7 separate regions of the Homo sapiens genome follow, and all the other regions are linked to region 4. Evidence: promoter capture Hi-C in human tissues and cell types (Jung and others, 2019). All regions are on one chromosome and are shown on one strand. Each heading gives the region's core, a stretch centred on a gene start or on the middle of the fragment in contact. The rest is flanking DNA. Distances are from core to core; before and after follow the strand shown.

Evidence for each region. The method cuts DNA at HindIII sites, captures the fragments that hold promoters and counts their contacts. A contact is called where the count stands out against the background at its distance.
Region 1: a contact is called between a fragment that was not itself captured here and the fragment with the promoter of SOX10 in region 4, in 2 of the 25 tissues and cell types used here (dorsolateral prefrontal cortex and spleen).
Region 2: a fragment that was not itself captured here is called in contact with the fragment with the promoter of SOX10 in region 4 in 2 of the 25 tissues and cell types used here (dorsolateral prefrontal cortex and spleen).
Region 3: the fragment with the promoter of PDXP here is called in contact with the fragment with the promoter of SOX10 in region 4 in 2 of the 25 tissues and cell types used here (hippocampus and psoas muscle).
Region 5: the fragment with the promoter of CARD10 here is called in contact with the fragment with the promoter of SOX10 in region 4 in 1 of the 25 tissues and cell types used here (lymphoblastoid cells).
Region 6: a fragment that was not itself captured here is called in contact with the fragment with the promoter of SOX10 in region 4 in 5 of the 25 tissues and cell types used here (dorsolateral prefrontal cortex, heart left ventricle, liver and 2 more).
Region 7: the fragment with the promoter of KCNJ4 here is called in contact with the fragment with the promoter of SOX10 in region 4 in 3 of the 25 tissues and cell types used here (IMR-90 fibroblasts, lymphoblastoid cells and spleen).

Annotation. Positions count from the first base shown.
Region 1 is chr22:38,342,839-38,346,358 of GRCh38, forward strand. All of the region lies in intron 4 of TPTEP2-CSNK1E (TPTEP2-CSNK1E readthrough), which reads right to left. It also overlaps the pseudogene TPTEP2. Among named protein-coding and RNA genes, the nearest start is that of CSNK1E, 27 kb to the left of the region's middle. RefSeq lists an enhancer at 1,670-2,169. The HindIII fragment of the contact is 5,046 bases long and covers 1-3,520 here.
Region 2 is chr22:38,433,620-38,437,406 of GRCh38, forward strand. All of the region lies in intron 1 of KCNJ4 (potassium inwardly rectifying channel subfamily J member 4), which reads right to left. It overlaps LOC105373029 (a long non-coding RNA gene), which reads left to right and starts at 725. Exons shown (of 3, transcript XR_938251.3): 1 at 725-804; 2 at 1,245-1,342; 3 at 2,684-2,766. RefSeq lists an enhancer at 1-306. The HindIII fragment of the contact is 4,472 bases long and covers 1-3,636 here.
Region 3 is chr22:37,656,691-37,660,392 of GRCh38, forward strand. It overlaps PDXP (pyridoxal phosphatase), which reads left to right and starts at 2,033. Exons shown (of 2, transcript NM_020315.5): 1 at 2,033-2,666. The coding sequence starts at 2,093. PDXP-DT (PDXP divergent transcript) reads right to left here and starts at 1,687. Exons shown (of 6, transcript NR_109952.1): 1 at 1,565-1,687. RefSeq lists enhancers at 1,590-1,659, 1,670-1,719, 1,908-2,409, 3,236-3,702 and silencers at 1,910-2,219, 2,420-2,529. The HindIII fragment of the contact is 18,911 bases long and covers 1-3,702 here.
Region 4 is chr22:37,982,448-37,985,950 of GRCh38, forward strand. SOX10 (SRY-box transcription factor 10) reads right to left here and starts at 2,108. Exons shown (of 4, transcript NM_006941.4): 1 at 1,892-2,108; 2 at 910-1,421. The coding sequence starts at 1,337. It also overlaps a transcript of POLR2F not described here. RefSeq lists enhancers at 377-1,214, 3,169-3,503. The HindIII fragment of the contact is 28,697 bases long and covers 1-3,503 here.
Region 5 is chr22:37,517,390-37,521,104 of GRCh38, forward strand. It overlaps CARD10 (caspase recruitment domain family member 10), which reads right to left and starts at 2,026. Exons shown (of 20, transcript NM_014550.4): 1 at 1,577-2,026; 2 at 582-719. The coding sequence starts at 1,811. The HindIII fragment of the contact is 30,090 bases long and covers 1-3,715 here.
Region 6 is chr22:38,389,618-38,393,181 of GRCh38, forward strand. All of the region lies in intron 1 of TPTEP2-CSNK1E (TPTEP2-CSNK1E readthrough), which reads right to left. It also overlaps the pseudogene TPTEP2. Among named protein-coding and RNA genes, the nearest start is that of TPTEP2-CSNK1E, 7.5 kb to the right of the region's middle. The HindIII fragment of the contact is 3,040 bases long and covers 118-3,157 here.
Region 7 is chr22:38,453,051-38,456,694 of GRCh38, forward strand. KCNJ4 (potassium inwardly rectifying channel subfamily J member 4) reads right to left here and starts at 2,149. Exons shown (of 2, transcript NM_152868.3): 1 at 1,930-2,149. RefSeq lists an enhancer at 1-45. The HindIII fragment of the contact is 19,664 bases long and covers 1-3,644 here.

The DNA.
Region 1 (3,520 bases), core at 671-3,170, 360 kb after region 4:
AGAGGTCAGGAGTTCGAGACCAGCCTGTCCAACATGGTGAGACCCCGTCTCTACTAAATAATACAAAAATTAGCTGGGCGTGGTGGTGGGTGCCTGTAATCCCAGCTACTCGGGAGGCTGAGGCAGGAGAATCACTTAAACCCAGAAGGCAGAGGTTGAGTGAGCAGAGATCTTGCCATTGCACTCCAGCCTGGGCAACAGAGCAAGAGTCCATCTCAAAAAACAGAAAAGGAAAAGAAAAAAGAAAAAAAACCCTCAAAAACTGGCCAGGAGCAGTGGCTCACACCTGTAATCCCAGGCTGAAGCGGGCAGATCACTTGAGGTCAGGAGTTCAAGACCAGCCCGACCAACATGGTGAAACCCCATACTTACTAAAAGATACAAAAATTAGCCGGGCATTGTGGCGGGCGCCTGTAGTCCTAGCCACTTGGGAGGCTGAGGCAGTAGAACAGCTTGAATCCAGGAGGCGGAGGTTGCAGTGAGCCAAGATGGCGCCACTGCACTTCAGCCTGGGTGACAGAGCAAGACTCCATCTCAAACAAAAAACAAAAACCAAAAAACGGAGGCCACGAAGAAGAGAAGGGATTTGCTCAAGATCCCAAGACTAGTCATAATCGATAGCAACTACACATTGTGCCCTTGCTCTGCGCCTGGGACTGTTCTAAGGGCTTTTCATGAGCTGACTCATTTAATCCTCTCAACAACCCTCTGTGGTTGGCCTTATATTATGTTCCTCCTTTTCAAATGAGGAAACTGAGGAGGCCCCAAAATGGTGGTGGTGCCACCTTTTTTTTTTTGAGACGGAGTCTTGCTCTGTCGCCCAGGCTGGAGTGCAGTGGCCCAATCTCAGCTCACTGCAAGCTCCGCCTCCCGGGTTCACGCCATTCTCCTGCCTCAGCCTCCCCAGTAGCTGGGACTACAGGCACCTGCCACCACGCCCGGCTAATTTTTTTATATTTTTAGTAGAGACGGAGTTTCACCATGTTAGCCAGGATGGTCTCGATCTCCTGACCTCATGATCTGCCCACCTCGGCCTCCCAAAGTGCTGAGATTACAGGCGTGAGCCACCGTGCCCGGCCGAGGTGCCACCTTTGATGCATCGGTTGCTAATTCACGTTGGGAGATCCTGGAGGACCGAGAAACCAGAAAACACGGTTCTTGCTCTGGTAAGTGTAGACATGGACAAGGTGATCAGAGCCATAAGAGAGAAGGGATGGGAGTCACGAAGTCTTCCCAGAGGAGCTTCACTGCAGCTGGGCCTTCAAGTATGTGTAGGAGTTTGCCAAGGCAGTAAAGGCAGAGGCCCACCAACTGAGTCAGGCCTGGGGTGCGATTTGGGCCGGGGCAACGACTCCATTCCTCATCACAGACAACCTTCCATGAATCTCTGCCCTTGGGCAGGAGGAAGAGGGAGAGGGTGTGGCTTGGCCCATTGCATACTTGGAGTCTGTAGACAGCATTACAAGATGAGGATTGCTGAGAGCTCTGGACTAGGAGTCTGAAGATGAACCTTCTTCTTCTTCTTTTCTTTTCTTTTTTTTTCTTTTGAGACAGAGTTTCACTCTTGTTGCCCAGGCTGGAGCGCAATGGTGAGATCTCGACTCGCCGCAACGTCTGCCTCCCGGGTTCAAGCGATTCTCCTGCCTCAGCCTCCCAAGTAGCTGGGATTACAGGCATGCACCACCACGCCCGGCTAATTTTGTATTTTTAGTAGAGATGGAGTTTCTCCATGTTGGTCAGGCTGGTCTCGAACTCCCAACATCAGATGATCTGCCCGCCTCGGCCTCCCAAAGTGCTTGGATTACAGGTGTGAGCCACTGCGTCCAGCCCTAAGCTGAACCTTCTGTGGGCTGCAGAAGACGCCTGGGTGCTGTACTCAGGTGCAGTCCCTCCCCTCAAAGGCCTAAGATAAACGGATAGAGATGGAACTGAGGGTGAGTCGTTCCCAGCCCAGAATGGTGAGAGGTCACCCAGCTCTGGTCCTAGCTCCAGCTTCAAGATTCAGACCACAGAGATTCACCCGGACCATTGACTTGAAAAGAGCCCCAGCAAACTTAGATTCAAAGTGCCCCTTGAAATATATGTGTATTTGCTTCTATGTACATACAGCATCTCTGGATGGGCCCAGAAGAAAAATATTTGCGAGTCATGCTTTTTTTTTTTTTTTTTTTTTTGAGACAGAGTATCGCTCTTTTGCCCAGGCCAGAATGCAGTGGCGCAATCTCGGCTCACTGCAAGCTCCACCTCCCGGGTTCACGCCATTCTCCTGCCTCAGCCTCCCGAGTAGCTGGGACTATAGGCGCCCTCCACCACACCCGGCTAATTTTTTGTATTTTTAGTAGAGACAGGGTTTCACCATGTTAACCAGGATGGTCTTGGTCTCCTGACCTCGTGATCCGCCCGCCAAGGCCTCCCAAAGTGCTGGGATTACAGGCGTAAGCCACCGCACCCAGCCCATGCTTTCTTTAGTATATAAAAAGCAGTTACAAATCAATAAGAAAAATACTAATAATATAATATAAAAATGACTAAGAATAGTAAGAGACTGTTCCTAGGAAAGAAAATACAAAGGTTGGGGACAGGGTGGAAGGGAAACTGAGAGGGAAGGAGACTGTACTGTACCCTCTTTGGTAACTTCTTTTTTTTTTTTGAGACAGGGTCTCACTCTGTTGCCCAGGCTGGAGTGCAGTGGTGTGATCTTGGCTCACTACAACCTCCGCCTCCCAGGTTCAAGCGATTCTCCTGCCTCAGCCTCCCAAGTAGCTGGGATTACAGGTGTGCACCACCACGCCCGGCTGATTTTTTGTATTTTAGTAGAGATGGGGTTTCACCATGTTGGCCAGGCTGGTCTCGAACTCCTAACCTCAGGCGATTTGCCTGCCTCAGCCTCAAAGTGCTGGGACTGCAGGGGTGAGCCACCGTGCCCGCCCAACTTTTGAATTTTGATGTCTGTGAAAATATTTTCCATTCCATAAATCGAATTAAATTAAATGACCAATTTCCCCATTTTACAGAGAAGGAAACTGGGTCAACAGAATCTGCAGGCTCCTCTCCCACAAGGCCCAGGGTGATGGCAGAATGGTGAGGGAAGGGGACCTGCCACCAGGCATCCTTGGGAGGGCGCTCCCCTTGGCTTCCTGATTGAATGCTCAGCTGCCTCTCCAGTTTGCAGATGTGGAAATGGAGGCAAAGAGTGCGAGAAGGACACCCCAGGCTCACTGGCTGGGGTACAGTGGGGACCTAACACCCTCCTTGAGCCCTGTCACCACACAATGCCACCCCCAGCTAGGCATGACCAATTTCTCATTTTACTGGCGCCGGCCTTCTTCAGCGTCAACTTTCTGGTCGTTTGACCAAAGTGGACCATTGTTTCCCCAAATTACACTTTAATAAAAAAAAAAGAAGAAAAGCTAAGCCGATTGAATGATGGTCACGGGACTGGACAATTTCAAAGCAGAGTTATTGGGGACTTGACTCAGCTGGCCATGCCATTCATTAGATTACTTGGAGAGTTGACTTT
Region 2 (3,787 bases), core at 151-2,650, 450 kb after region 4:
TCTTAATTTTACTGTGCTGTAAACATCCAAAATCTGCAAGTCTTTAGTCCAGACTTCATTAGCCAGCTGGGGAAACCGAGGCCAAGAACAGGGCATGGCACCGTGTCCGAGGTGGCACAGTAAGTCAACAGCTGTGGAAGGAAGCTCAGGCCTCACCACTGACACCAGCCATCCTGCCCCATCCTGAGGAATTAGGGAGGGGCTGGAGACTCTGCCTCCTGGGGGTCCAGAGGAGGCAGGAAGACCACCCCAACCCTGTCAACTTTTAGGTTTTCCCGACAATTTTAGGACACTAACTTATCTGTCCTTGCCCACAACTCCCTTTGCAAAAGAAAAGCTGATCAGCTTGCAGCAGCCTCGGCAGGTCCCAGCTACCTGGAAGGCTTCGAGGGCAAATCTCCTCCCCGAGATCCGTGCCACTGACCAGAGACACCATGGCCACTGCAGGGGCACCTCCGCCAGGCCCTGCCAGAGCCAGGCAGCAGCTCCAGCCCTGCCTGAAACTCTGCTCCTTTAGACAGGAGCAGGAAGCTCACGCCTAGAGAGCAGTGGCCAGTGCCAGCCTGCCAGGTTGTCATGCATCTCATGTCATCCCACCACCAGACTTCGAGGTGACTATTATTGGGTGAGACAACCAGGGAGGTGATGTGACTGGCCTGAGGTCACAGAGCTCAGCCTTGGGGATCCGAGGAACCAGTCATCCTCTCTCTCCAGCCCCTCTCAGGGAATTTCTGCCAACTCCATGCCAGGCGCTGCCTCCTCTCTCTCATTGAAGCATCACTGTATCCTTTGTGTATTTAACAAGTATGTATTAAGCACCTACCACAGTAACAAGAAGGGTTGTTATTTCTCCTCCCCAGCTGAAGAATTGCAGGCTACAGAGATGCCGGGGGGTTGAGGGGTGATGCTGAGCTTGAGCTGGAAATCTAACTTGAGTCTGACTAGCTCCAGGTCCTTGGCTCACCCTGGTCCCCAGCCTCTGGCTTCGGGACCCCTTCTCCTGCCACATCACCCTGCTCAACCTGGGACCCCCAGGCTCTCCCCATCCCTCCAGACCTACCCTGAGCCCCTGAGGCTCTCTGACCCTGCTACTCTGAGCCCTCAGGCCTCACTGTCTATCTGCAGCACATGGCCTCTGTTCAATATGAGAAAATGTGCTGGTTAAACCCATATGTTTTGGGTGGCAAGACCTGGCTCTCAGTCTCAGCTCTGTCACCTCCCAGCATATCCTCTTTGAACCTCAGTTTTCTCATCTGCAAACTGGAGATGACGATACTGGTACCTTCCTCACCAGGCCGCTGCTGAATGAACATGACAACCACCATGCGTTATTACATTGCAGGTAAAGTGCAAAAACTGATGTTGATAATGGTGATGACAAAGATGCAGAAGCTGATGACCAAGAATGCTGGACTGGGAGCTGGGGAACCCCTTCCACTCCTGACTCCACCACTAACATGCTCTGGTCAGAAGTTCCTTCCCTCTGTCTGCAAGATGGGGAGACCATCATGGCTCCCTGGCAGGAGAGGTGGGAAAATGTACAAAACGAGGCACCCAGACAGAGCTTGGAGTCAGGTGACAGATGGGGGGCGCTCCTGAGTCTCCTTAGCCCCAGCCATCCCTGAGCCCTCCTGGGCCTAGATGGGGAGGCTGACTCTCCAGCAAATGTCCTACCAGAGGGAGCCAGCACAGGGCAGTGGAGGTCAGGGGACGCAGCCCAGGGCATAGCTCAGCGCACCCAGGATGGGTTCTGAAGGGTAGAGGATTTTCCTGGAAGAAATAGACAGAATTTGCCGGGCACGGTGGCTCACACCTGTAATCTTAGCACTTTGGGAGGCCGAGGCAGGTGGATCACCTGATGTCAGGAGTTCGAGACCAGCCTGGCCAACATGGTGAAACCCTGTCTCTACTGAAAATACAAAAATTAGCCAGGCGTGGTGGCAAGTGCCTGTAATCCTAGCTACCTGGGAGGCCGAGGAAGGAGAATCGCTTGAACCCAGGAGGCAGGGGCTGCAGTGAGCCAAGATCGTGCCACTGCACTCCAGTCTGGGCAACAGAGCGAGACTCTGTCTCGGGAAAAAAAAAAAAAAAGAAATAGACAGAATTAACACCACTGTCCCATTTCCCAGCCCTTGTGGAGCACAGAGTCTGTCCCCACTCCAGCTGAGGCCCTCAGGTCTGGTTTGATTGGAGGGGCTTTCCACTCCAACAAGTGGAACTTTGCAGGGAGGAAGAGAACTCAAGACCCCAGGCCCACGGCTCTTTGAGCTGTACCCCTCAAAGAGTAAGGGGAGCCAAAGACAGACTGAGCCACAGGGGAAACTGTGGCAGGGTCCCCACCTGCCACTGCCCTCTGCAGGCCCTGCAGTCCCCTGTCCCTGGGAGGCCTGACTCCCTCCTCTTCATGAGTCTCAGGAACCCCCCGCCTGGTGCAGCAGCTTCAGCTCTGGAGCCTCTAAACAACTTTGTGCCCATGTGACCTTATGCGAGGAACTTAACCTCTCTAGTCCCTGCATGCCCCATCTTTAGGAGAAGCTAATAATAGAGCAGACTTCCTAGGACTGTAATGAGGACAAATGGGATCATGCACACCACGTGCCCAGCCCAGAGTAAGTGATCGATAAGGTGCATTTTACTCAAGGCTGAACATTGCTCCCTCTTGATTTCCTCCCCTCAATTTCAGATGCAGCATCCCAGAGCCTGCCTGGGCCCCATCCACAGGGCCCTGCCCAGTTTGTCTTCATTCACTGCACTAGGGAGCTGGTGGGCAAGAAGAGCAGCCTCGGTGCTGTTCCACACAGAGCTGGGCTGGAACCAAGCCGAGTCCCACTTGGCTCTAGCAGGTCACTGGATTCTCTGAGCCTCGGTATCTCCAATGGTGAAAGGAGCATCGCAGTGCCTACCTGCAGGGCCTGATGTGGATTGTCCCAAAAGCGCATGCCACATGGTGGGGGCTCAAGAAAGCTGTCCCCCTCCCCACCTTCTTCTGGACCACGAAATCCTGTGGTACACCTAGCCCCTCCCTCACCAGGCAGCCCTCTGACATCGCAAAAATTCAGGCTGAGCATCTGAGCATTGAGCACGCATTTACTCAGTACTTTACCCTGATCGATTCCTATCATTCTCACAATGATCTCAGAGGAAATTATCATTACCCCTGTTTTAGAAGAAAACCAAGGCACAGAGAGGTTCAGCAACTTGCCCAAGGTCACACAGTTTGTAAGTGGTAAAGCCAGGATGTGGGCCTGGGCAATGGGCATCAAAGCACGCTAACAAGGCATGCTACTGTCCTGCCTCGAAGAAATACTGTCACACGCTTGCTTCCACCTGGTACACATCCAGTCCTACTACGTGCCAGGTTCTGTGAAGTCAGTCCTATGGGGATGGAGAAACTGGATCACAGGGCAAGTTGGAGCCAGGACCCAGGTTCCTGATTTCAGGTCCAGCCAAACGCTGGAGACCAAGCTTTGGGCTCCACAGGGGCTTGGAGCAGCAAGGGGTGAACCGGCTCATTCCTCCTACTCTGCACCCCACCGGGCCCTCCCAACCACTTGGCCAGCGAATGTGGGGCGGGGGAGCAGGCTGACAAGCAAGCTCCCCAAAATGTCCAGAGGGGCCTTTGGTGAGGGCCAAATCACAGGCGCTGGGGGCTGGAGGACCCAGAGGCCACCTGTTTCAACCCACAGGTGTGCCCTTTGCTGAATTGCTGACGCCAGTCCTCTGCCCTCCCTCGAGAGCTTCCCACCCTCCACAAATACCTGTGCCCATCTTCCCCACAGGGCTGTGA
Region 3 (3,702 bases), core at 783-3,282, 330 kb before region 4:
TTAGAATCAAGTGTCTGGCCAGGCACGGTGTCTCATGCCTATAATCCCAGCACTGGGAGCCTGAGGCAGGAGGATCACTTGAGCCCAGGAGTTCTAGACCAGCCTGGACAACATAGTGAGACCCTGTCTCTACAAAAAAAAAAATTTTAATTAACTGGGTGTAGTGGCGTGTGCCTGTAGTCTCAGCAACTAGGAAGGCTGAGGCAGGAGGATCGCTTGAGCCCAGGAGTTGGAGGCTTCAGTGAGCAGTGATCATGCCACTGCACTCCAGCCTGGGTGACGGTGTAAGACCCTGTCTCAAAAACAAAAAAAATCAAGTGTCATTGCACTGGGAGCCCATATTAGCCAAGTTAGGGGTGGCCATATAACCTAGACTCATGGTATGGGGTGGGTGGTTAAGAACGGCTTCCTGGAGAAGGTGATATTTAAGGGAAGTCTTTCAGGAGCTGACCTGAAGGTGAATTTTGTTTATTTTTATTTATTTTATTTATTTTTTATTTTTTGTTTATTTTTTTTTGAGATGGAGTCTCGCTCTGTTGCCCAGGCTGGAGTGCATTGGCACGATCTCAGGTCGCTGCAAGCTCCGCCTCCTGGGTTCAAGCAATTCTCCTGCCTCAGCCTCCCGAGTAGCTGGGACTACAGGCACCCGCCACCACGCCTAGCTAATTTTTTTCTTTTTTTTTTTTTTTTTTTTTGTATTTTTAGTAGAGACGGGGTTTCACCGTAGCCAGGATGGTCTCGATCTCCTGACCTCGTGATCCGCCCACCTCAGCCTCCCAAAGTGCTGGGATTACAGGCGTGAGCCACCGAGCCCGGCCCTGAAGGTGAAATTTTTAAAGGAAAAAGGAACATTCAGGCCAAGGAGACTATCTATGCAAAGGCCAGGAGCAAAAGGCTTAGGGCACTTGGGGAATAGGAGCTAGTTGAGCTTCCAAGGTTGGGTACAAGGTACAGTTTTTCCCAAGTCGTTGGAGCTCCAGTTGCTCCTGGGGGTCACAGCCTTATCTGAAGTTGGCAGACAACTTCAAAACTGTGACACCACAGCTCACAATTCATTCATCCCCACACTGCAGACCAGTGGCTCCTCAAAGGTCCCAAGACCTGTGGTTGCTTCCAGATCACAAGGCCTCCTCCCTAAGACAGGGACCCAGCCAACCTGGGTCACCCCATTACTATTCTGGGCAATTGGCCACGACCATTCTGGATCCTGCCCTCCCGGGGCGTGCTGCAGTGACAGCCTACCAGCCTCTAGCCCAGTGCTTCCCTACCCTATCCTAGCTCACGGTAGAATCCCTGGAATTAAACCAACTAACCAACAAACCAAAAAATGCCCAGTCTTCACCCAAAACACTTACATGAGGATCTGTCCTGCTACACATCGGTGATTTCAAAAGCATTTGTCAAGACATTGAACTGTACATTTAAGATCTATGCATTTTACTATATGTAAATGATATCTGAAAATAAGTTCCCAGGGGACTCTAACGCAGTGTGAAGAACTACTGGTCTAGACCGAGGGCTCCAGCACCCAAGAAGACACCATGTGCCTCGTACCCCATCGTACACACACGTTTCTTGGGACTTCGCTCTGAACTGGAGCGTCCACGATTCAGGGGGCAATGAGATTCGACCCAAAGGCAGTTCATTTAACATCTGTTTTTCTCCCAGCAACCAGCTCGCCTAAGCTTCTGATTGGCTGGAGGGCACGGGGCCTTTCGCTTCGCGTTTTGTTTGTAGATTCTTATTGGTTAAGAAGAGCGTCAGTCTCCCACCGCGTAAGAGTGTAGTCGGCGTTGAAACTCGGCGGCGACTGGTCCAGCAGAACCAGGGACGGGGAGAAGGATCAAGCTAGCTCTTCATTGGTCCCTTCCCCTCGGTGTTGGCCACGAATCCGCCCCTCTCTCCAAGTTCCGTTAGCTCGCGGCTTCGCTCCTCTCCCAGACTCTCGCCCCCATTGGCTGCAGGCCACGCCGTCGCCCCGCCCCCCGGTCCTTCCAGCGCGCCAATTGGCGGCTGCGTGGAACGTGCCAGGGAGAGCGCGCCGTGCCCGCGGAGAGAGCGCGGCGCGGGAGGCCGGCGGCCGGCCGGCTGCATGGCGCGCTGCGAGAGGCTGCGCGGAGCGGCCCTGCGCGACGTGCTGGGCCGGGCGCAGGGGGTCCTGTTCGACTGTGACGGGGTGCTGTGGAACGGCGAGCGCGCCGTGCCGGGCGCCCCGGAGCTGCTGGAGCGGCTGGCGCGGGCCGGCAAGGCGGCTCTGTTTGTGAGCAACAACAGCCGGCGCGCGCGGCCCGAGCTGGCCCTGCGCTTCGCGCGCCTCGGCTTCGGGGGGCTGCGCGCCGAGCAGCTCTTCAGCTCCGCGCTGTGCGCCGCGCGCCTGCTGCGCCAGCGCCTGCCCGGGCCTCCGGACGCGCCGGGCGCCGTGTTCGTGCTGGGCGGCGAGGGGCTGCGCGCCGAGCTGCGCGCCGCGGGGCTGCGCCTGGCCGGGGACCCGAGCGCGGGGGACGGCGCGGCCCCGCGCGTGCGCGCCGTGCTTGTGGGCTACGACGAGCACTTCTCCTTCGCCAAGCTGAGGGAGGCGTGCGCGCACCTGCGCGACCCCGAGTGCCTACTCGTGGCCACCGACCGTGACCCATGGCACCCGCTGAGCGACGGCAGCCGGACCCCTGGTGAGCGCGGGAATGGCGGGGAAACTGAGATGGGGGCGACCTGCGCATTCGCCTCCACGCCTAAGGGTGAGGGGCGGGGAAGAGGCGTCTCCAGGTGGCAGGTGGGGAACAGGAGAGTGCGAGGGAGGCCCAGGGTGCTTTGGTGTGGGGGGCGGTTGATCCCTGTAGCCGTCATCCTGTGAGGCGCAGCAGTGTGGTCCCTGTTGGACAGATGAGGAAACTGAGGCCCTTTGTAACTTAGGGAGTTGGGCGGAATTCTGCCCTACCCACCATCGGGGTGGGGTTGGAGAGGAAGCCTGGGAGGATTGTCCCCCTGTGTGAGGGTTGAAACACCATTCCCAGAGGCAGGGTGTAGGCAGGTGTGTGGGGAGCAAAGGCGGTGGAGTTTGACCTCAGTTCCAGGTCCAGCTCCAGCTTCACAGCTGTGTAATCGTGTTCAGTTACATAACCTCCAAGCATCTCTGCCTGGGTGAGAAATGGCAGTGCTCAGCATGCCCGGTGACGGTGATCAGGGTGAGTGCCTGGCACATAGTAGGTGTTCAGATGATGTAAGTTGTAGCCAGAGTCCCCCATGTTACAGAGAACTTAATGAAACAGCTTTGTGTGTGTTCTTCTTTGGTTTCCAAATTACTCTGGAGATGGAAGTTATTGTCCCATTTCTCAAGTAAAGAGACTGAGGCAGCCGGATGCAGTGGCAACAGCCTGTAGTCCCAGCTACTCGAGAGGCTGAGGCGGGAGGATTGCTTGAGCCTAGGAGGTCAAGGCTGTAGCGTGCTATCATTGCATCTGTGAAAAGCCACTGTACTTCAGCATGGGCAACATAGTGAGACCTTATCTCTAAAAGAAGAGGAAAGAAACTGAGACTAAGAGAAGGGAAGTGAGCTGCCCAAGAACAGATATAGTGAGCCCCTCCACCTCCTGTGTCCCCACACACCTGCCTCCATCCTGCCTCTGGGAATTGGTGTTTCAGCCCTCACAAGTAGGGACAGTCCTCGCAGGCTTCCCCTCCAACCCTCCAACCGCACCCCAATGATGG
Region 4 (3,503 bases), core at 858-3,357:
CCCAGACCTGAGTCGAGGGTGGGATAATTGCTCCCTGCGGGGGATGTTTTTCCTAGAGGTGTGGGCTGGTCCCAGGGAACCTGGGACTCTGAGGGCCCCTGGGCAGGAAGGAGGCCAAGGTTTCCTTCTGGCCAGAGTGCTCAGCTCCAGCTCTGGGGCAGTGGGGAAGAGGTTGCTCAACGTTGGGGTGGGGCCCTGGCAGGGAAGATGGCGCCGAACTGGGAGAGGGAGGAAAGAGATCAGCTTGGTGACTCTGGGGCAGGGCAGGAGGGGGAGCCCCTTACTGTGTGTCCTCTCCCTAGGAGGATGAAGAAGCCCCCAACTCAAAGGAGGGTGGCGTCAGAAAGTCCCAGGGAAGAGCCCTAGGATAGGATGAGGTCCCGCAGCAGCAGATTTGTCCCGCAGTTCTTCATCCCTCACTCTTCCAAAGACTCTCATCTGAATTCCGTTTTCTTTAAACCTCCCCTGAGTTCTCCATCTGACTGCCTCAGTTTCCCTGAATCTCCAGCCAACCCTTTGGTTCTTTCCAAGCGTTTCCCTCGTATCCTCCTGACCACAGCAGCTGGTGGCATAGTGTGCGTATCTGTGGGCAGGAGTTAGTGAAGGCCTCCTTCCCTCCCTCCAAAGCCCCAGGCCCCACGGTCTGCCACCCGCAAAATTCCAACCACGAGGGGGCGCCTTCCTGCCCGCCGCCCCGTAGGGAGACCCGGCCTAGGCCGCTGGAGTTCCGAGTTCCAGGGTCCTTGTGATGGAAGGGCGGGCGCGGCCCCCACACCTGGTCTTCCAGCCCTATCCAAGGAGGACTGCCAGACAGTCCCGCTCTGAGGTGCAGGAGGCCGGGCCGCCTCGGCTACCCTGAATCCACCCGAAGCTAGAGGGCCCGAGCCCGGGGGGCGGTCGGGTGCTCACCTCCAGAGCTTGCCCAGCGTCTTGCTGAGCTCAGCGTTGTGCAGGTGCGGGTACTGGTCCGCGAGCTTCCTGCGCGCTGCCTGAGCCCACACCATGAAGGCGTTCATGGGCCGCTTGACGTGCGGCTTGCTTTTGCTGGCGCCGTTGACGCGCACGGGCATGGGCACCAGCGTCCAGTCGTAGCCGCTGAGCACCTGGCTGACGGCCTCGCGGATGCACACGGGGAACTTGTCATCGTCCGCCTCGCCGTCCTGCTGCTCCTTCTTGACCTTGCCCAGCTCGCCTGGCCCCGGGCTGGCTCGCAGGCCCGATCCGCCGCCGCCGCCGTCGGGCCCTAGCGAGGGCGCGCTCCCCGGGGACAGGCAGCGGGGCTCCTCCGAGCCCACGGGGCTCAGCTCCACCTCCGATAGGTCCTGCTCCTCCGCCATGTCGCCCCCGGCCGCCGCCGCCGCCGCCTCGGCCGCCTCCCCCGGGCCAGCCGCCGGGGTCCTCGCAAAGAGTCCAACGCCCACCTGGATGGAAGGAGGGCGCGATGGAGCGGCCGCGCGCGCAGCCCCGAGGGCGGCCCGAGACAGGACGTGGGCACAGCCCCGAGGTGGCGGCCCTTCCTGCTCCAGCTAAACCCATCTGGCCCCTGGGGCCCACGCACATGCCAGACTCTAGGTGGGTGCGTCCCGCCTCTGTGTCTTCCCACCACCTGGTCCCAACCGTCTCTTGGTGTGGGTGGCTTTTTTTTTAGCCTCCTTTTTTGGGTGGAGGTTTGTTGATGATAAGGAAGAAAAAAACGGAGCCTTTATTTTGCTCTAATCCCGGCCCCTGGAATTTCCCACCTTTTCTCTCACCTTTCCTTCTTCCCTCAGCCTGCCCCAACGGGGTTTAGAGGAGAGCCAGGTGGGGGGCAAGGGCGGGGTGTCGCCTCTCTCCACCTCACAGCAGGGTCCCAGGCCTGGGCGGGCCAGGGAGGAGCAGGCTGCGCACTCACCTCCTCGGACCTCTCCTCCAGTCTGGGGCTCGTCCTTAGGAAGTGGAAAACCGTGTCCCAAGGTGTGCGGTCCAGCTCGGGGCTGGGAGGTGACGCTGGTGGGCTGGGAGGGAGGGGCGGGGGGCCCTGAGCCTCAGGCCACGGCCTCGTTAGGACGGAGCCTGAATCCTTACCACCAACCACCCTGGCCGGACAGCCCGAGACTGACTGAGCGACTGAGCCTGAGCCGCTGCGGAGGGCTGGGGAAGGAAGGAGGGGGAGAGGGGGGAGGGGAGAGGAGGGAGGGAAGGGCAGAAGGTGGAGCCTCCAGGCTTTCCTTCATCCCCAACACTCAGGGCTCCTCCACCCGGAGCCCAGGCCCCCCCACCCAGCTCCCTGCCCTACTGCCCAGGCCCATCTTGCTGAGGCTTATCTTGGGCTTAGTCTGGGAGGTGGAGGGGAGGTTAGGCCGAGGAAGGAAGAGATGTAGGCTGGAGGGTCAGAACCTGTTGGATGGAAGAAAATTGGGCCCAACCAGGACTCCTAACGTCTGCCTCAGGTGGCAGGATGGGCACTTGGCAGGGGACTAGGGAGAGACGTGAAGGCGGTGAGGGTCCTGGGGGCCCGTGAGGGTGGCTGGCCCTAGCTGCTTCGTCTGCGAAATCCTGTTGAGTGCCTAGTGTGTGCCAGGCACTGATGCCCAGCTCCTCACCCTGCCTCCTACCTTTTCCCAGGCAGCCCTTTCTGCCCCATCCTGCACAGTAAGAGAGACTTCTCAGGGATCCCTCTGAGAAGTGCAGAGCCCCAGCTTGACCCCTGGTCCCTTCTCTGCAGACACCCAGCACACGCGCGTTCTGGTCTGGTTCAAGGTGGAAACACAAGACTAAAGCTGCCAGGAGGCCAAGGTGGGACAGGTTGGGGGCCCTCTCTCAGTAGGTCTTAGAGGCATTTTGGGTTGCTACCTACTGGGACCCAGCTCCTTCCACACTGGGCTCACCCTGTCTTGGGAGAGGGTAGGGGAGTCCTAGTCCTGATTGTCACGAAGTCCTCTACTCCCCCACCCCAACAAGGGGTGGGGACTTGCCCTGCCTCTTCCCTCCTCTGCCCACCTCTCCCTCCCTCCCCTTTTCTTTCCTGCCCATCCTCCGTTGACACCTTTTTCTCTCTCTTTCCTTGGCCTCTCCTCCAAAGGTCGCAGTGCTGTTCTCTTAACTGAGGGCAGCCCCGCCGGGGTGTTGAGGCCGAGGTGGGGTGTATGTGGGTTATGTAATGGAGCTGGGGTCGCATTGGCAACCATGTGACGTTCTGAGCTCCTCAACAGCAGGGCAAAGCCCCAAGACCACCCCAAGGGGTCCTGTCTGGAGTGGGCTGCAAAGGGTCTGGGGAGGCAAGGCCTCATGCTTGGGAAAGTCCAAAGGGGTGTAGGGGGTGGGAAATGGGACACAATGAGGTAGTCACACGAGGCAGAGGCATGTTGGGGGTGGGGGGAGCAGACACTGGAACACACACACACACACACACACACACACACACACATGCTCACACACACAACCAGCCAGACAATCGGGCCAGTGTGTCTGGGGCCTCGGAGCCCAGTGAATTAGGAGTTTGATAAGGGTTTTCTCTTTCTCTC
Region 5 (3,715 bases), core at 776-3,275, 470 kb before region 4:
CACTCTGGGAGGCCGAGGCAGGCGGATCACAAGGTCAGGAAATCAAGACCATCCTGGCCAACATGATGAAACCCCATCTCTATTAAAAATAAAAATACAAAAATTAGCAGGGCGTGGTGGCCCATGCCTGTAATCCCAGCTACTCGGGAGGCTGAGGCAGGAGAATCGCTTGAACCTGGGAGGCGGAGGTTGCAGTGAGCTGAGATCGCGCCACTGCACTCCAGCCTGGTGACAGAGCAAGACACTGTCTCAAAAAAAAAAAAATTCAAAGTCACCTGGAGCCTCTGTATTTTTTTACATAAAAAACTATACATCTGTGTATGTCAGACATATGTCTGAAAACAGTATCACGAAGAAAGAGCCATCTTAAGCATGTGGCTCTGAACTTGGAATAACGGCACTAGCACCCAGCCCCACCCTCAGCCTACCGTGGGGCCCTGGGCAAGCCCCTTCAGCCTCTCCATGCCTCAGTTTCCCTTACTGTTCAACAGGCATAGTGGGAGCGCCTCCCTAACAGGGATGGGGAAAGGAGCCTGTGCACTGGAGTCCGAGGTGCCAGCATCCACCGCAGATCCACTCACCGAGGATCATGGAGCAGCGCTGGGCGGGTTCCTGGCCCGTGAGCAGCGTGAAGTGTTCGGGGTAGTAGAACTCCAGGGCTTCCAGGAAGGCCTCATAGCCCCTCTTGCCACGGCAGCGCAAGATGTCCATCAGGCGCCCTACAGAGTAGTGGGGGGATGTACCCAGGGTCTAGGGGAAGGCCTCCCCAGGTGCCTGGTTGCTTCTGCCCCCACCATGCTCCAGGCCCACGTTCCCCAGATTTTTGAGCCAGTGACACACACAGGGGCCTGTCCCAACACATCAGGGAAGAGAAGAGAGCCATTCTGCCACAGCCAGGGGAGCACATTCCCTCATGACTCCTGGGCTCCCAGAGCTCCCCAACACCCCCCACAGACACAGATGCCGGCCCGCAAATGCAGCCTGCCTTTTCAATGGCACAGAGAAGCCCCCTCTATCCCCAGAAGCAAAGAAAATACTTCTCCCATTGGCCATGCCTGAAATTCCACCATTAAAGACCATTCCATCATGCCTTTTTGAGTTCTGGTTCAAAGGCACACCCTGTGGGAGTGGGGACCCACGTAAAGCTGAGACGGATCTTGACACTTGAAAAAGGACTCCCCCAGGAGTGTATGGTGCACAGAGGAGGGGACAGACAGAACTCGGAGATCAAAGAGCGCAGGAAAGGTGCCAAGTCCACCGGCTGTGACCGGGAGGTCCCAGGCCCAGCCGGCCCTGGCAGCCACATCCAACCTTCTGCTCTAATGTGGACCCAGGAAGTGGGAGAGAACCCCAAGAGACAAAACTCTGACCCCGGTGTGGGCAACGCGGACCGCCAAGGCGCAGTGGTGGGTGGGGAGGAGGCAGGCTGGTGGGCATACCCAGCCGGCCCACTCTACTGATGCGGAGACCGAGCCCCAGGGCAGCAGAGCCCTAGCTTCGCGCTACACGGCTGTGGGCGCTGCGCCCCAGGGCACGGCCGGCCCAGGTCGTGGCCCACTCGGGACCCGCGGCTCACCGGTGCGGTTGACGCGGCACGGGAAGCGGTAGGTGCTCAGCACCTCCTCCTCGTCCTGCTCGTCGATGACCCGGCACTGGCGCAGATACGGCGTGAGCTTGGCCGGGTTCAGGGCGCGAGCCAGCCGATGCCGGACGCCCTCGATTCGCTCCCACAGCGCGTCCTCCTCCGCCTCAGACCCCGAGCCGGCCCCGGCCTCCTCCTCGGCCTCCCCCGCCTCCGCCCGGCCCGGCATGGCCGTGTCCTCAGGGTCTGCGGGCAAGAGGCGCACGGGGGTCGACCAGGGCTCCCTAGGGCTAGATGTGCGGCCAAGCACCCCCGGGGCGTCGTCCGCAGACCCGCCGTCGGGGGCGCGCCCCGAGCTCCCCGCGACTCACCCCGCACGCTACAGTCGCCTCGGGCTCCCGGGTCCGCACTCGGGCGGCGGCTCCGCCGGCGCAGGGGGGCGGTGCCCGTGGCGCCCCCGGCTCCGCCCCCGTCCCCGCAGCCTCCTGGGCTGCCCGGGCCTCCCCACATTGCCGCCCGCCCCGGGTCGTGCGTCCGGCCCCCGGCCACCCCGCGCGTCCGTCTGCACGCCCTCCCTCCCGGCCGTCCGGCTGCGCCTCCCCCTGCTTCCTGTTTCCCGCCGGCTCTCCAGCCCGGCTCGGCGGGGTCCTGGCCGCCCGCCCACACCTGCCCGGCCTCTGGGCGGGGCGGGGGCGGGCAGGCGCGCTCACACCCCCCGCGCGCCGCGACACACCTTCCCCGGGCCACGCGCATCGCCTCCCCACGCCCACAGCGCGCCCGCCCGTGCGGGGCTAGCCGCTCACGCCCGGCGCAGCCCGCGGGCACTCAAGCTGGGCTTGCCCTTCTCGGGTCCCCACATGCACTGCGGGCGCGGGAGCTTCCCTGGAGCGCAGGACAGCCCCGCGGGGGACAGCAATGGGCAGAGGTCATGGGGGCTTTCTGCAAGATGGGGGTCTGAACCTGCAGGGCAGCACTGCCAACTCCCCTCTTACGCAAACTCCCGTGGCACTTGAGGACCAGGGACCCCACAATTCTCAAAGGGTATTCCTCCAGGTGTTGGTCCCAGAGATGCTGGGGGCGGGCTGTGACTAGCCATCCATACTCCCGCTCCTGCCTGGGAGGCCGGTGGTGTCTTACCATGATACTGGCCGAGTCTACACGGTATCTGCTGGTGCATGCGATACAGTCTCGCTATGCATTAGAAGCTGCCAGGTACCTGCTGCCAGGGAGGAACAGAGGAGGCACAACCGGTACAGGAAAGAGGTGTGAGCTCCCTAATCGCCTTCCACAACTTCTGAATTAGATGCCGTGGACATATGTATTACTTATCCAAAGAATTAAGGTTTCAATCAATAAAGGCTCTGAAAAGCCCTGCTTAAATTAAGGCCGGGGGCGGTGGCTCATGCCTGGAATCCCGACACTTTGGGAGACCGAGGCGAGTGGATCACCTGAGGTCAGGAGTTCGAGACCAGCCTGACCAATATGGCGAAACCCCATCTCTACTAAAAATATAAAAATTAGCTAGACGTGGTAGTGCGCGTCTGTAATCCCAGCTACTCGGGAGGCTGAGGCACGAGAATCGCTTGAACCCAGGAGGCGGAGGTTGCAGTGATATCGTGCCACTGCACTCCAGCAGCCCGGGCAACAGAATGAGACTCCCCCTCAAAAAAAAAAAAAAAAAAAAAAAAAGCCCCAGCAGTAAAGAAACAGATTTAACTTTATATATCCTGGTGTCCTTTTCCAAACTTAATTAACCACAGCCTTTTTTTGGTTTGCATTTGTTGTACATTTGTTTTTGTTTTGGGTGTCACCTGTTTACATGCAGAAGAAATGCTTTGGGAGAACTGAATTCTAGTGCAAATTCCTCAATTAACAAAGGAGGAAGCAGAGCTCAGAGAGGGCAAGGAACTTGCCCAAATTCACACAGCGAGGCCACAATGGGAATAGGCCGGAGCCCAGCCCCTGGCCTCTGTCCTCTCCAAGCCCCGAGTCCAGGCACACACCAGACCTCCCTTTCAATACGTCCTTCCCCTCTCTGTGGCCTTGGTTGCCCTCCCACGCAGAGCGGCAGCTCCTCCCACCAGCAGCCCTACTCCTCGTGAATATTTTTAACTTGGCCAGCAGAGCGGGATG
Region 6 (3,564 bases), core at 388-2,887, 410 kb after region 4:
AGTCTCGGGATTAGAAATATGATGTGAGGCCGGGCATAGTGGCTCACACCTGTACTCCCAATGCTTTGGGAAGCCGAAGTGGGTGGATCACTTGAGGTCAGGAGTTGGAGACCAGCCTGACCAACATGGTGAAACCCCTTATCTGCTAAAAATACAAAAATTAGCTGGGCATGGTAATACACACCTGTAATCCCAGCTACTTGGGAATCACTTGAACCCAGGAGGTGGAGGTTGCAGTGAGCCAAGATCGCGCCACTGCATTCCAGCCTGGGCAACAGAGCGAGACTTTGACTCCCCCCTCTTGCCCAAAAAAAAAGAAATATGATGGAGTGTTATTTCCCACTCAGGGAAACAGCATAACTTAGTTACTGAAAATATTTATTAACAGACAGATGTTTTGGTTCCAATTCTCAATTATCTGGGTTAAAGAAGTTACCATCAGTCTCCACACAAGACCTTGTAGGATTATTTCTCTGCAGTGAAGGACAATGAAGGAGGTTCAGTGGGAAACGATCTTAGGACAGAGGAAGTTTCCACTTTGCCTGGGAGGGTGAACAGCCTGGGAGACCTGGAGATGAGGGCAGGCATTCTAGGCCAAGGGGTCTTCTTGTGTGGTCAGATGGGGAAGGAAACCCTCCTGGCAAAACAGCAGCAATTCTTTCTCCAGGAAAGCTTCTGAGACTGACTCTAATAGTCAATTGTGATCAACTGTCCTAGGCTCCCAGGGCCACAGCAATCCTTAGGCACCCCAAATGTGCCATCCCTGACTACCCAGCACACCCTAACCCCAAAGCATTGTGACAGCTCAAGGATGACTTCCTCTGAAAACCTCTGTCCAGATCTAAAACCATCCTGTTTGTTTGCTTGTAACTGTCTTTTTCTAAAAGTAACACCTCAGGATGGAGACTCTGTTGCCTTGTCCACTGCTGCCCCCAATGCCTGGAACAAGGTGCCTGACACAGGAGTAGGCACGCGACACATAGCTGGTGAATAAACGTCACGGAATTAGCACACGTGTAGAATCAGTACGCACATGTTTGGCCACAGTCACTAAACGTAACTGATCAGAAATTAAAATTAAGTTGCATGTTCATCAAAACTTCTACATGGCTATCAGTGACTGCCATCTAATTGCCATTCTGCAACTTCAAGAGTACAATTTCAAGAGCGTAATAAAAAAATCATATTTAATCACACCATAAAGTTCATCAGCACAAGCAAAACAAAAACTGCACTATTTGGATTTATACTCACTCTCCTTACGACCCTCCAAAACAAAAATGCTGGGCATCCTAGGGCTATCTCTGACAGCAAATGCCTTCAGCTCTTGACTTAGAAACTGCTAACATACTAGACAAAACACTTTCCTTAAACTCTAAGACAATGAATAATACTTTAAACCAGGTTTACATCGCTTAAAACCAATTCGCTCATCAGTAATCGTTAAAGTGGTTGTAACAATAAAGATGTTAATAACAGAATACAGCAAAATAGAAATTCTAATCTACTAACAGCAAATCACCATTCCAATTGAATGGTGTGTGTGCACAAACACAAGCCTTCCCAGAAGCCTCCAGCTCTCCACACTCCTGCACACAGAAGGCAGCAGTAAACCGATGGCACTGCTGTTAAAGTAAATTGTCTTTCTCAACAAAGAACTGGAGGGGAAAAGGAGGATATTATAATCCAAGACTATAATCTAAATGCTTCTAGCTTGCAAGAAAGTGAGCATTACGAACACGCTAAGCTTACTGACAAGTACTTCACAAAAATGGTTTCCAATGTTTAAAAACATTTTAAAATCTTTACTCAGGTAAACGACAGAACTTAACTCATATACCCCCTAACACCTAAGGCAAGTGGGCTATTGAGTATAGCCATATTTTGAAAGAAACTTCTATTGGGATTATTTCAGTAGATACTTTTAAAATTTACCAGAGCATAATCTTTGAAACCCAGTGGGAACCACACTGCTACAAAAGGCTGGAATAGAAGTGTGATGTTCTTTAGGTCACTAATTACACACTGATTTGTGACTAAAGCTACCATGAATTCTACCACTACCTATAGATCTTGAAATTAGCAAATAGGACACATTATACACTGCTTAATAAAAAGCACAGTAATCTGTGCTTAAGTACAACTAACTAGGTACAACAGCCACTTTGCTGACAATTACTGTAACTTGGGAATATTTTTCTTTACATCCTGATGTACTCAAACTGTTAACTTTTAGAAACAGCACAGCCTCTTTGTTTCTTCTGCTTAATAGGTTATCTTACACTGTTGATATGGAATATGTATCTACCATAATACAAAGCAATAAGGTATTCAAGTCCTCAAAAACACAGAAAAATTATATTTATACACAATTTGTCATACTGCTAACAAAGCTACTTTTTCCCAAGTTACTGAGGTGTCCAAATAAGGAGTTATTAAAAAATTCAACTTAAATTGCTATTCTCTGGCCAATGCATTTGTACCCTGAAAACTACAAAATTATCTCCAAGACCTGGCTAGAAGTTTACATTTTCTCTGAAAGTTTTTCCTCTGTCTTTTACACACAGTATTTTTTCTTAATCTGACAAGTGGAGAAAACTCTGCATAGCCATCTACTAACAATCAAAAAGCTACAGGTTTTTTTATTTTTTATTTTTAATGCTCTAAATTCTTCAACACTGTTTCAAGGAAATTACTAGGGGTCACACCCACGAGGCTAAATGGTCAACCCAACTTTCCTAATTTAGCTGTGGAAAGATGCTTCCAAGTTAAGCGAAAGAAAAAGATTGGAATATTCAAAGTTTATATTTAAGGTTACAACCTAAACTCTTCAACTTGGGAAGCTTGTAAAGGAAATAATTTCATTTTGCTGAAATTGTTCATAAATTACCAATTTTAAATAGGATTAGAGACCAAAGTACTATAAAAATATAATCATATAGCATATTTGAGTGTCATTAACTAGAAACTGCCTGAATTCATCCTAAATCAGTTAAGGTCAGTTAAGGGATCTTAGTAAGAACTTAAAGTATAACATACTAGTTTTAGTTTCAATATTAACAGATACTGTCATCTGCAAAGTGGTTTTTAAAAACATCCTGATCTGAAAAAAAGTTATAAGGAAAGTGAATTTTTAAAAACTTTAATTAAGCAAGACTAAGCATTGCTATCCATTTCTCCTATTACTACTACTTAACCAGTACAACCTTAAATATCTGTAAAAATTTGACAGGCCTAACTGCACCAAAAAAAAAAGATTTCAGCAAATTAATTAACTGTTAATAAACTGTTCTATCTTTACCTGCACTAACTCTCTGCAATGAAAACACTGAACGTGTGTATACACACATCTATCTATATATATATACACACACAAATAACTATACCCACTACTAGACCAGTACACCATACCACTTTTTCCAATGAGCGCTCTGAATTAAACACAATTCAAGTAACCTAGCTAAATACAAGCTTAGGCAATGCCTTTTAAGGCATAAGATCATTCTTCTGCAAGATTTAAATATTCCCCTCCCCATCCTATCTTTTGCTGACTACATACTAAAG
Region 7 (3,644 bases), core at 899-3,398, 470 kb after region 4:
CATTAAGAACCAGCCCGCCCTGTAAGCCTACACTGTTCCTCCTCCCCTTCCTTCTTATCCTAAGCTAAGACATCTTCTCACAGCATCTCCCAGAGCTACTTCATTCTCTCTTTCGCAAATGTCTACGAACCTACTATGCTCCAGGCTGGCGCACGCGGCTTTCACAGACCTGACACAGTCTGGAAACTGCTCAACACCCTGATGAAGTCAGTATCATCATACCTATTCTCCAGTTGAAGAAACTGAGGTTCAGAGAGGTCAAGCCACCCACCCAAGGTCACCCAGCAGAAACTCAACCAGCTCTGCCTGGTCACAGCCACTCCAGAGGATTTTCTGAGAGAAGAGCTTTCTTTTCAAGGATAACCCAAAGGGCCATGAGGAATTGTACCCCAGATTCCCCCTCTAATCCTGGACACTCCTCCTTCGTCAGCTATTTCCGCCATATTCCCACTGCCCCACGCCCACCTCCACCCACTAGCTGTTCATCTCTCTTAAGGTAAAGTGAGTCTTTACTCCCATCTCCCCAGTGCTTTCCCCAGCCTGTGAACAGCCCACTGCTCATTGAGCCCAGGGCCCGCCTTGGAGGTCACTGGGGCAGGGAGTGACGTCCCCATGCCACAGATGTGGAAGATGACGGTTGGGAGGAGAGTGACCAGCCCAGGGGGCTGCTCTCCCAGCCACCTGAGCTAATTTCTGGGAGGCTGAATGGAGGACATATGAGACCCACTGCCCAGTGTGGAACACCCCAGAAAGAGTCCCTCCTCCCAGTGAGAATGGAGTGGAATGTTCTAGGCTCAGCCCTTCCAACTCCAGTTGGGATATGGGTCAGTTCAGTGGCCAACAGTCTCTGTTCCCACCATGCTGCACCCATCTCTTACCCCAGCTGCCCTGGTCCACCTTTTGCTCCCCTCAGCACAGGCCAAGCCAGGGCCACAGTGAGGCTCTTGGGCCCCTAAAGTCCTGCTAACTGCCCCCAAAAGGCCTGAAGCCATGGAGGTCATGGGACTGGATGTGGGGGAGAACACACACACACACGGCTCCAACCCTTCTCTGGGCCTCCCTCCCTGAGTTCCCCACTTCCCCCAAACCTGCTGCTGAACATTCTACTGCTCTTGAGGCCCTGCTCTGTCAGCTGGCCAGGCTGCCCTGCCTCTAGCCCGCCGCTCCACCCCACCCAGCTTGCCACCTCCCAACTCCCTGCATCCTGTCCATCCTGAAGCAGGGACACTGGGGGCAGAAATGTGGGTAGGGGGCAGGGAGGCTGACACTGGTGGGGGGACATTTGGCAGGTTGCAGGGGAAGTTCTCCCTGCGGGAGGCTCATTGAGACCTCTCTTGCCTTGGGGTGCTCCCTACACACGGAGGAAAAAGCAGCCTCTGCCTCCCTCCCCAGCCTGTGTCTATCACTGTGAACGTGCAGTGCCTCCTCTACCAATCCCTGCCCCTGCGCCCTGGGGTCGTGTGGCGCCAAGTAGGTGCTCAAAACATGAGAAGTGAGATTTCGTTCTTCAGATCACAGGGCCATTTGCAACGAGGATGCAGCTGGGGAGGCGGAAAGGCGGCATCCCCCACCTTGCCACAAGTCACCTGCCTTGAAGCTCCCCGGCATGACAACTGGGGTGGGTGGAGGCAGGGAAAGGTCATGGCTGGGGCAGGAGGTCAAGACCCCTTCCACCCACCTCTCTCCCCCTTTCCAGGCCACAACCCAGACCGCGACGCTCCCAGACGGACAGACGGACAGAGCCCGCCCGTGGAGCCCGCCCGCTCCCGGGGAGTCACGGGACCGCGCGCGCGGCGCCGGGCAGCCGGGACCCGGCTCCGGATCAGGTGCGGAGCGGGCGGGGCCGGAGCGGCGGGCCCGGGACACACAGACACGCACGCGGCGGGACAAACTGACGGACAGCGCCCGGGGTGGGCGAGCGCGGCTTACCGCTGGGCGGAGGGTCCGACGAGAGTCCGGGAGGCGGCGAGCGGGCGCTACATCCCAAGGCGCGATCCGGCGGGCGGCGTCCCGGGCGCGGAAAGGGGAGTCCCGGCGCCCCCTGCCCGCGAACTCGGCCGGCCGGCCCGCGCTCCCCTCCCCGGCTGCCGCTCGGTCTGCGCGTGGGTCTTGGGGTCTCCGCGCGTCCCGGCCGTCCCGCGCCGCTCCCCGCGGGCCGCCCAACTTTCAGCGCTGCCCCGCGCCGCGCCCTCGGCGCCGCCTCGGCGTCAGCATCGTCGGGCCCGGCCGGGCTCACAGCGCGGGGGTCCGGGGGCCCGGGGCGCCCCGCCGCCCGCGCCCCCCACCCCCGCTGCAGGCGCCCTCCCCGCCGCCGTCCCCCGCTGCGCCCAGCTCCCTCGCTGTCACCCGCTCCTGCTCGCGCGCTCTGCCCCCGGCCCTGCGCTCCACTCCCGGCCCCGCTGCGCTCGGCCCCGGCCCCGCGACCCCTCGGCCTCCCGGCCTGGGGTCGCCCTCCCCGCCCCCGCCGGCCGGGCTCTGTCGCCACCTCCCCGACCGCTCTCGCGTCTCTCTCCTGCCGCCGGGGTCTCCGCCGCGCTCGCGTCCCGGTCCCTCTCCCGGCCTCCCTGCCTCCTGCGGCCCCGCTCGCCCTCTGCCCGCGGGGTCTCCGTCTCCGTCGCGGTCGCCCGCCGGCCTCCCCCCGCCTCCCTCTGCCCGCGCTGCCTCTCTCCCCTGCGCGTCTCTGTCCGTCTCCCTCGCGGCCCCTGTCCTTCTCTGTCTCTCCCCCTCCCACTCTCCGTGCGGCCCCCTCTGTCTCGGACCCCGGCCCCCGCCTTGGCCGCGTCCCCGGCTCGCCCGGGAGCCCGAGCTCCCGCCGCCCGCGGCGCGCCGAGAACTCCCAACTCGCGGCACGCCGCCCCGCTTTGCGAGACTTTCGCCCCTCCTCACACGTGACCCGCGCCCCACTGCGGAGGCCGCGCGCCCCCCAGCCCGGGAGCCCCGGCTGCCCGCGGGACCCCGCCCTGCCCGCCCCTCGGCCTAACCCGGCCTCAAGCCCCCTCCCGCGGGGCCCGCGGCGCGGAGCAGGGGCTGGGGCGGGGGGCTGCTGGCCCCGCTCCTGCCCTGGATCCTGCCCGGGTTTTCCTCCTCGCCCCAGGAGCGCTCCTCCCAGAACCCGTTCCTGGATCCGCTCCCGGGTTTTGTGCCCCCCCCCCAAAAGGGGGCAGGTGGAGAGGGTTCCTCCGAGCCGGGAAGGGGGGTGGGTGGGAGCTGGTCCCTCTGGGGTCCCACGGAGTCCGCCCCTCTCCTTAGCGGTCCTCGTACTCTCCCAAAGTACCGCCGGTCAAGGACCCGAAGCACCTCACTCTGGGAGTCTGAGGGGGCCCTATTGGAGGGACCCTCGCGATCACTCAGTCACCACTGCCCCATTTTACAGATGGCGAGACTGGGTACCAGAGAGGGTCAGAAACTCGGCCAAGGTCACCCAGAGATGACAAAGCCAGGCCAAACCCTAGTCTCTTATTCTCTGTCGCTCTCCATTACCCCAAGCTGTCAGGCCTGGGCCCCACACTCTGGGGTGTCAGGGAACCCCCAGCACCCACAGCACCTGTCTAGCCAGCTACATCCTGACCATCCTGCCACGTCACTCTAGCCCTCCGAGGAGACAGGAGGGAAAGTGCTCCTCCTTCCAGGGTGGTAGGACGAGA